Linked DNA regions of Homo sapiens: region 2 is linked to region 1. Evidence: promoter capture Hi-C in 16 types of primary human blood cells and fetal thymus (Javierre and others, 2016). All regions are on one chromosome and are shown on one strand. Each heading gives the region's core, a stretch centred on a gene start or on the middle of the fragment in contact. The rest is flanking DNA. Distances are from core to core; before and after follow the strand shown.

Evidence for each region. Contacts are between HindIII fragments. The CHiCAGO score rates a contact against its expected background, and 5 or more counts as called.
Region 2: a fragment that was not itself captured here is called in contact with the fragment with the promoter of COX4I2 in region 1 in 3 of 17 cell types (erythroblasts, M1 macrophages and megakaryocytes); the score reaches 7.4 in erythroblasts.

The regions. Positions count from the first base shown.
Region 1 is chr20:31,635,054-31,639,443 of GRCh38, forward strand. COX4I2 (cytochrome c oxidase subunit 4I2) reads left to right here and starts at 2,859. Exons shown (of 5, transcript NM_032609.3): 1 at 2,859-2,909; 2 at 3,965-4,046. The coding sequence starts at 3,965. RefSeq lists a silencer at 2,780-2,919. The HindIII fragment of the contact is 5,408 bases long and covers 1-4,256 here.
Region 2 is chr20:31,783,671-31,788,411 of GRCh38, forward strand. TPX2 (TPX2 microtubule nucleation factor) reads left to right here. Exons shown (of 18, transcript NM_012112.5): 12 at 35-251. Among named protein-coding and RNA genes, the nearest start is that of MYLK2, 33 kb to the right of the region's middle. RefSeq lists enhancers at 1,950-2,449, 4,586-4,741. The HindIII fragment of the contact is 247 bases long and covers 2,161-2,407 here.

The DNA of each region.
Region 1 (4,390 bases), core at 1,609-4,108:
CCCCCAGCCCTCTCCCATTCATCCACCATCCGTATACTAACAGTCCCGGGACACATTTACTGAACTTGTGCTCTGCTTCATTTGAACACATCACTCCTCTTCTTAACTTTGGTTGCCTCCCACCTTCATTTTATTTTATTTATTTATTTATTTATTGAGACAGGGTCTCATTCTGTTGCCCAGGTTGGAGTGCAGTGGTGCAATCTCAGTTTACTGCAACCTCCACCTCCTGCCTCAGCCTCCTGAGCACCTGGGACTACAGGGGTGTGCCACCATGCCAGCTTAATCACCTTCTTTAAATAAAATCCAAGCTCCTCACTACCGCCTACAGGTCCTTCTCGGTGGTCCAGCCCACCTCTCCCTCCATCCAGCCTCCCCTTTAACCATGACACTCTGGCCAAGATGACCTCTCTTCTTTTGTTATTGTTTTTGTTGTTGCTTTGAGATGGAGTTTCGCTCTTGTTGCCCAGGCTGGAGTGCAACGGTGGGATCTTGGCTCACTGCAACCTCCGCCTCCCAGATTCAAGCGATTCTCCTGCCTCAGCCTCCCGAGTAGCTGGGATTACAGATGTGCACCACCACACCTGGCCAATTTTTTTATTTTTAGTAGAGACGGGGTTTCACCATGTTGGCCAGGCTGGTCTCAAACTCCCGACCTCAGGTGATCCATTCGCCTCGGCCTCCCAAAGTGCTGGGATTATAGGCATGAGCCACCGCACCTGGCTGTCTCTTCTGTTCAGTTGTTTTTTTTTTTTTTTTTGAGACGGAGTCTCGTTCTGTCGCCCAGGCTGGAGTGCAATGGTGCAATCTTGGCTCACTGCAACCTCCACCTCCCGGGTTCAAGCGATTCTCCTGCCTCAGCCTCCCAAGTAGCTGGGACTACAGGTGCATGCCACCACGCCTGGCTAATTTTTTGTATTTTTGGTAGAGATGGGGTTTCACCGTGTTAGCCAGGCTGGTCTCGATCTCCTGATCTTGTGATCCACCTGCCTTGACCTCCCAAAGTGCTGGGATTACAGCGTGAGCCACTGCACCTGGCCTGTCTCTTCTGTTTTTTGAACATGCTGTGTTTTCCTGCCTCTGGGTCTTTGCACAGGCCTTTTCCTCTGCCTAGAACAGAATTGTAAGCCCTGTGGGGGCAGGAACTATGTCTGGTTTTTTTTGGCTCTATAGCCCCCAACATTTATCCTGGTAAACAAGTATGCAATAAATGCCAGCTGAAACAGGTCTTTATAAGTTTTTTTTAAGTTTTTTTTTTTTTTTTTTTTTTTTTGAGGAGTCTCACTCTACCACCCAGGCTGGAGTGCAGTGGTGCGATCTTGGCTCACTGCAACGTCTGCCTCCCAGGTTCAAGCGATTATCTAGCCTCAGCCTCCCGAGTAGCTGGAATTATAGGTGTCCCCTGCCACACTCGGCTAATTTTTGTATTTTTAGTAGAGACGGGATTTCACCACGTTGGCCAGGGTGGTCTCAAACTCTTGACGTTAGGTGATCTGCTCGCCTCCGCCTCCCAGAGTGCTGGGATTGCAGGCATGAGCCACCACGCCCAGTTTTATAAGTAATTCTTGAATAAATGTGCCTGAGCCTTGTCTATTTTTTTTTTTTTTTTTTTTGAGATGGAGTCTCGCTCTGTCACTAGGCTCGAGTGCAGTGGCATGATCTTGGCTCACCGCAACCTCTGCCTTGCGGGTTCAAGCCATTCTCCTGCCTCAGCCTCCTGAGTAGCTGGGACCACAGGCGCCTGCCACCATGCCTGGCTAATTTTGTTTGCATTTTTAGTAGAGACGGGGTTTCGCTGTGTTAGCCAGGATGGTCTCCATCTCCTGACCTCATGATCTGCCCCCCTTGGCCTCCCAAAGTGCTGGGAATTTTTTTTTTCTTTTTCTTTTTCTTTTTTTCTGAGACAGAGTCTTGTTCTGTTGCCCAGGCTGGAGTGCAGTGGCCCGATCTCGGCTCACTGCAACAGCCGCTTCCCAGGTTCAAGTGATTCTCCTGCCTCAGCCCTCTGTGAAGCTGGGACTATAGGTGCGCGCCACCACGCCCTGCTAACTTTTTTTTTTTTTTTTTTTTTTTTTGAGATGGAGTCTAGCTCTGCTGCCCAGGCTAGAGTGCAGTAGCCGGATCTCGACTCACCGCAACCTCCGCCTCCCGGGTTCAAGCGATTCTCCTGCCTCAGCCTCCTGAGTAGCTGGGATTACAGGTGCGTGCCACCACGCCCAGCTAATTTTTGTATTCTTAGTAAAGATGGGGTTTCACCATGTTGGCTAAGCTGTCTCAAACTCCTGACCTCGTGATTTGCCTGCCTTGGCCTCCCAAAGCGCTGAGATTACAGGCATGAGCCACCGCGCCCGCCCAATTTTTCTATTTTTAATAGAGAAGGTGTTTCGCCATGCTGGGCAGGCTGGTCTCAAACTCCTGACCTCAGGTGATCCTCCCGCCTCGGCCTCCCAAAGTGCTAGGATTACAGGCGTGAGCCACTGCTGGCCTAAAAGATGCTTCTGGAGTAGGAGGCATTGGGCCTGGCTGGAAGGTTTGCGTCTGCAAAGGCCTGAAGAGAACATCCCAGGTGGGAGAAACAGCAAGGAGGGGAGGTGTGGAGGAGGCAGGGAGACCCTGTTCTTGGGACTACTGTCTGCAGAGGGTCTCCAGAGGCAGGACCCCGGTAGGGACACTGATGCAGGAGGCGCTCTGCAGTGCCTCCCCCCAATCTGTGGGCCGGGGTGCCCCCAGGGACGCAGGCTGTGCGCTCCCACGCCCTGCCGAAGCAGGACGTTCCCACGCTGGGGCGGCCCCGAGAAAGGCTGTGGGGCGGGCCGGGGGCGGGCGCCCGCACTCAGGTCCCTCCGCAGCGGGTTCTCAGTTGCTCGCTGGGCAGACCCAGGTCGCGCTCCCACTGCCGAGCCCGCGAGGTGAGTGAGTTGGGGGAGGACCCCGCCACCCAAGCCCGCGCGGGTCAGGGGCGCGGCTCGGTCTCCTGCCTTCGCCGCTGGGTCACGCCCCAGTGGTCCCTGTCTTAGAGGGTTGGGGGGCTTCTTGTAGGTTAGAGTTGAAGACTCCTGGGGAGTCTGCATATGTGTGCCATCTCTTTCCCCAAATATAGATTACATCCTCCCTCTCTTGATATGTGGAGCTCTCCCACCCACTAATCATAATCACTGGCCGGAGCCCCTCTTTTCCAGAAGTGTGGGCCGCCCCCTCCCACTTATCACCTGTAGTGTGCCCCCTCCCTCACTCTATTTGTTGGGTGCCCCTCTCTCTCCCTAGATGTGGGACTCCCCTTCTTTTCCCCAGATGTGTGTCTCCCTCCCTCTGACCCAGTTAAGTCCCCATCCTCTAAAGCCCCTCCCCACCACCATGGATGCCAAACCCTGAGTCTTCCCTGGGGGTGGGAGACTGGGCTCAGCCAGACTGGCTAAGCCCAGTCCCCACCCCAACCAGATCCAGCAGAGCAGGCCTGTGTGCACGTAGGCAGCCAATTAGGGGGGAAGGGGTGGGGGCCAGACCGTCTGTCTGTTCTGCCGGTGCAGGGGCCTCTGGCCCCTGCAGGGAAGAGAGACTCAAGAACTGCTCCCTCTCCACCTGGACCCCACCCAGCTTCCTCTGGGGAGCAAACAAGTGAGCGGGGTTCTCCAATCTGGCCAGACTGAGCTGGGGCTGGCACCAGAACCCAAGCCCTCAGCCTCAAACTCTTCAGACCCTGGCCCAAGACTTAGGCCTCCTCCCACTTCTCAGATGGTGAATTGAGGTCCCAAAAAGGGGCTTCAAAGGTCTAGGACCCCCATTGGCCCCCCGCTGGGGATATCAGACAAAATTAGAAGGGTCAAGGGCATGAGGGTGACCTTGAAACACTGGGACACCCCTACCACTACCATACCAGTGGAAAAGGATTTTTCCATCTGGCCCTGCGGTTTGGGGGCAGAGGGTGATGTGGGGGCAGAACTCATCTATACCTTCACGCCCCCAGATGCTCCCCAGAGCTGCCTGGAGCTTGGTGCTGAGGAAAGGTGGAGGTGGAAGACGAGGGATGCACAGCTCAGAAGGCACCAGTGAGACCTGGACTCCTTCCTCCCTGCCTAACTCCAGAGATAGGGGCAGGGGTCCCCTCTGCAGGCTGCCCCCTTTGCCCTTCCATGCCACCCTGGGCCTGTTCCTACCACACTTCCCATGTTCCCATGATCCCACTCCTTGGTCCAAGGTCAAGTTTCTCCAGGAAATGGAGTGCGCGGGGTGAGCAGACAGTGGTCATCTCCATTCCAAGCTTCCTTAGGAGCCAGCCCCCAAGCCTCAGGCCCCTAGACCTTTTGTTCTGAGGTGGAGGATGCTGACAGAACCTTGGACCCTGATTCCTCCTTTCCAGACCCTAGTTTCAATGCTAGTAAGAAGAAAGAGA
Region 2 (4,741 bases), core at 1,034-3,533, 150 kb after region 1:
TTTTTTTGTGGTTATTTAAATTTTCACCTTACAGATACAAATTCAAAGCACGTGAACTTGATCCCAGAATACTTGAAGGTGGGCCCATCTTGCCCAAGAAACCACCTGTGAAACCACCCACCGAGCCTATTGGCTTTGATTTGGAAATTGAGAAAAGAATCCAGGAGCGAGAATCAAAGAAGAAAACAGAGGATGAACACTTTGAATTTCATTCCAGACCTTGCCCTACTAAGATTTTGGAAGATGTTGTGGTAAGGTTGAGGCTATGTGTGCTGGCAGAAGTGTACTGCTCATGACCAGATATCCACCCATTCACACAAAAGTTTGGGTAGATATTATGAGCAGGGCATCATATTAGGAACTGCAGGTGATAAAGAGACTTATCGGAAGTGGATTTTGCTTTTAGTTAACTCAAAGTCTGGTATGGGAGACAATATATGTGTGAATAATAGAAAATGGACAGAAGTGTTCTGAGAGAGATGACAGTTAAAATAGGAATTCAGAGGAGAAAATGGTTTCTTCCAGATAGAAAGTTCAGGGTGTGCTTTGTAGAGAGGCACATTTGACCTGAGCCTTGACGATGTACTGTAGTAATAGTTATTGTGTTGCTATTGTTGTCATAATAGCTGACAATTTTACTGTGTGCCAGGACTGCTCTAAGCCCTTTTCATATATTAGCCCATTAGTTTTGACAACAACCCCTTTAGGTGGGTTATTTTATCACCTGTTTCAGATGAGGTAACCGAGGCACACAGAGGTTATGTAGTATTCCTAGAGCACTCAGCTAGTACATGGTGGAGCAAGTAAGAGTTCAGACACTCTAGCTACAGAGTCTGTGATCCTAATACCTCATTATATGCCTCTCCATTACATGATAGAATTTTGACTTGCAGAAATGCAAATGGACTGGATTGGCAGAACATTCCAGGCAGTAGGAATTACATGATAAAAAGCCTGACGGTGGGAAACAAGAAGCTTCTACTGGGAGCTGTTAGTGGGTCAGTTAAGCTGGAGAAAAGTTTATCAAGAGCCACTGGAAACTGTTTCAGAGAAGTGAGTTGTAGTTTGATAATAGGCTCACAACCACAAGTTTAGAGAAAATGTGCAATCAGGAAGCAAGGCTACAGTCAGAGAATAAGCAATGGAGTTAAGCACCTGCATAAATGCGAAAGCGGCTTTTAGTTACATTTCAGTGCAGATGAGGACCTCACCCGCCGCCACTGGTTTGGATTGCCTGGATTGATGCAGGTCCGGGATAACTCTAGAAGCACTCTGTTTTCCTATCTTCTTTCTTTTTGCTTGCTTTAGAGTCACCATGCTTTTAGGGGAAACTGCACCAATGTATTACCTTTGACTGAGTACCTAGTTTTGTTTATTGTATTTTCTTAGCACTAAATCAGAAGCAACTTGAAGTTATATTTTCCAGGCTTTACAAAAATCATGATTATGCTTAGAAATGGTTCTCCTCCCTGATACCTACTTTTGATTGAGAGCTTTTTGCGTGACTTCTGTTCACGATGCTTTTTTTTCCCTGCCATGATGCATATGTACTATATGCCAAGCTCTGTTACAATAAACTGTTAAGAAATCTTCCCCCACCCAAGTGATTAATCTCCAAGGGCTGTGCCTTCTTTGTCTTTACCCATTGAGGAAACAGTGTTGTGAATACAACAAGGGAAAAGTAGGTTATATGCAAACCTCAGAGTTGTAGAGCCAGAAGGGCTCAACGTTTAGTTTTACATACAAGATAATGGAGCCCCAGATAAGAGAAATTATTTCTTCAGGGTTTCTATAACACTCTTTTGGCACCTTGCTTTTGGTTTTTTGTTTTGTTTTTTTTTTTTGAGTTGGAGTTTAGCTCTTGTTGCCCAGGCTGGAGTGCAATGGCGTGATCTCGGCTCATGGCAACCTCCGCCTCCCGGGTTTAAGCGATTCTCCCACCTTAGCCTCCCGAGTAGTTGGGATTACAGGCGCATGCCACCACGCCTGGCTAATTTTCGTATTTATAGTAGAGACGGGGTTTCGCCTTGTTAGCCCGGCTGGTCTCGAACTCCTGACCTCAGGTGATCCACCCGCCTTGGCCTCCCAGAGTGCTGGGATTACAGGCGTGAGCCACCGTGCCTGGCTGGCACCTTGCTTTTAATAACATATTTTCCTCCAAGCTTTTCCCCCTACCTAAGTTTTTGTTTTTATTTATGTACCACTCTCTCAATTTGTCCTATATCCTTGTACCTTACATACCAATATTATTATTTTAAAAATCAACTCACTTTGTAACCTAACGTAAATTTAAAGGGAACTTTTAAATAAATATGTAAATGGAAAACCAGTACCTTTTGCCACAAATAACACAGCAATAATAGCTAATACTTATATAATGCTTATTACATGCCAGGTCTTTATTCTAAGCTTTTTACATTTATATAATAATGCACTTAATTCTCACAACAACCCTATGAGGTAAGCACTGTAGGTACTTAATCCATTTTACAGTTAGGAAACATAGAGGTTAAATAACTTGCCCAAAATCACAAACTAGTGAGCGGCAGAGCTAGCATACGAATCTTAGGTGATATGATTCCAGGGTCCATGCTGTTATATAAAAATAGAGGTTACCTTTTAAAATAGAAGGTTCTTAGGAAGTATGTGCTTATTTAAAAAAAAAAAAAACAACAGTCTACACCTCACCTAAGATCCTTTCTCATAGCATCAGTCACACCTGAACTACTGTTTTTTTTTTTTTTTGAGACAATCTCACTCTGTTGCCCAGGCTAGAGTGCAGAAATGTAGTGGTGTAATCTCAGCTCACTGCAACCTCTGCTTCCCAGGTTCAACCAATTCTCATGCCTCAGCCTCCTGAGTAGCTGGGAATACAGGCACACACCACCATGCCCAGCTAAGTTTTGTATTTTTAGTAATGACTGGGTTTCGCCATGTTGCCCAGGCTGGTCTTGAGCTCGTGGTCTCAAGCAATCCACCTGCCTTGGCCTCCCAAAGTGCTAGGATAGTAGGCGTGAGCCACTGCACCCAGCTGAACTACATTTTTGAAAACACTGATTAGGAAATTGGTTTGTCAGTTGTGTGTACTCTAGAAATGCTAGGGTGAAGTAGTAAGTAGGGAAGGGTGACCAGAGTTCATTAGGAGTTAGTTGAGATCTTAGAGTAGTTGGGTACCAGGTTATACCTGTGAAAATTCTGTGTAAACAGATCTGCAAAGCACTAGGTAAGGTGTGACCGAATTGATACGATTTGCGGAATGGAAGTGTTTGCCAAATCCAGCTGGTTCTCAGAATCCTCTGGGGCTCTTATTACATAAACAGATTTGTTGGGTACATCACAGAGGGAGCCCAGATAAAGCACTGAGTATGGTGCCTGACACGCAGTAAGCAGGGGTATTATTAATAGTAATTGTCATTTTATTGAGTGCTTACATTGTCCTGAGTACTTTATGTAGATTGTCTTATTTATGTCTGATTACACTTCTAAGAGGTGGAGTCTATACTTATCCCTATTTTTCAGACAAGGGAATAAACACTGAGAGGTATCTAGTATGCAGAACCAGAATCTGAGCCCATCATCTCCTTAAACACTGTATTATTGTACCCTACAATGCTTACTGTTATCATATTTATTTTGGCAAATGAGGTTTCTGAGTTTGACACTGGCTGTTTGCAGGTTTCCCTACTAAAATTTCCAGTGATTTGACTTCAACTCTTGGTTTCTAGAGAAGCATAGCATAGGAAGAGATGTTAGATGTGTTTTCTTCTACCCGCTTCACTTTTCAGAAAGGGAGGTTTTGAAAGGGGTGCAAACCAAAAAGTATGAGACAGGTCTCAATCAATTTAGAAGTTTATTTTGCTAAGGTTAAGGATGCATGCCTGGGAGACAGGTCTGTACCTTTCTCCAAAGATGATTTTGAGGGCTTCATATTTTAAGGGGAAAGGGTGGATAGTGGGGAAAGGGGAAGAGATTTTGAAAAGGTATGGGTAGGTAAGAGGCAAATGGTTGCATTCTTTGTTCACATGTGAGAGGGGGTAGAGGAATAGTTACTTATGCATTCATCTAGTTCAGTGAATCTGCATTTTTACATAAGATAATTAGGGCAGAGGAAGCAATCAGATACGCATTTCTCAGGTGAGCCAAGGGATGACTTTGAGTTCTGTCCTTTGTCCTGTACCTGTGAAGATAAGCTATCAATTTATATTGTCAGGGTGAAATTCAACAGAACTGTTTTAGGGTGAAGAACTTGGGGCCCCCAAGGAATTTTCAAGTGGGCAAATTGTGAGGGAGGTATGTACCTTTTTCATCTTTGAATGGGAGGCAGGTTTGCATGTTGAAGTTCCTAGCTTGACTTTTCTCCTTGGCTTACTGATTTTGGGGGTCCCAAGATTTATTTTCCTTTCACAGGGGATTATAGCTTGCCTATGGAAACATTTAAAAGAAACATTTATAAGAGAGTAAGTCGGCCAGGCGCGGTGGCTCACGCCTGTAATCCCAACACTTTGGGAAGCCAAGGTGGGCTGATCACCTGAGGTCAGGAGTTGGAGACCAGCCTGCCCAACATGGTGAAACCCTGTCTCTACTAAATACAAAAAAAATTAGCCGGGCGTGGTGGCAGGCACCTGTACTCCTAGCTACTCAGGAGGCTGAGGCAGGAGAATTGCATGAACCCAGGAGGTGGAGGTTGCAGTGAGCTGAGATTGCACCACTGCACTCCATCCTGGGCAACAGAGCGAGACTC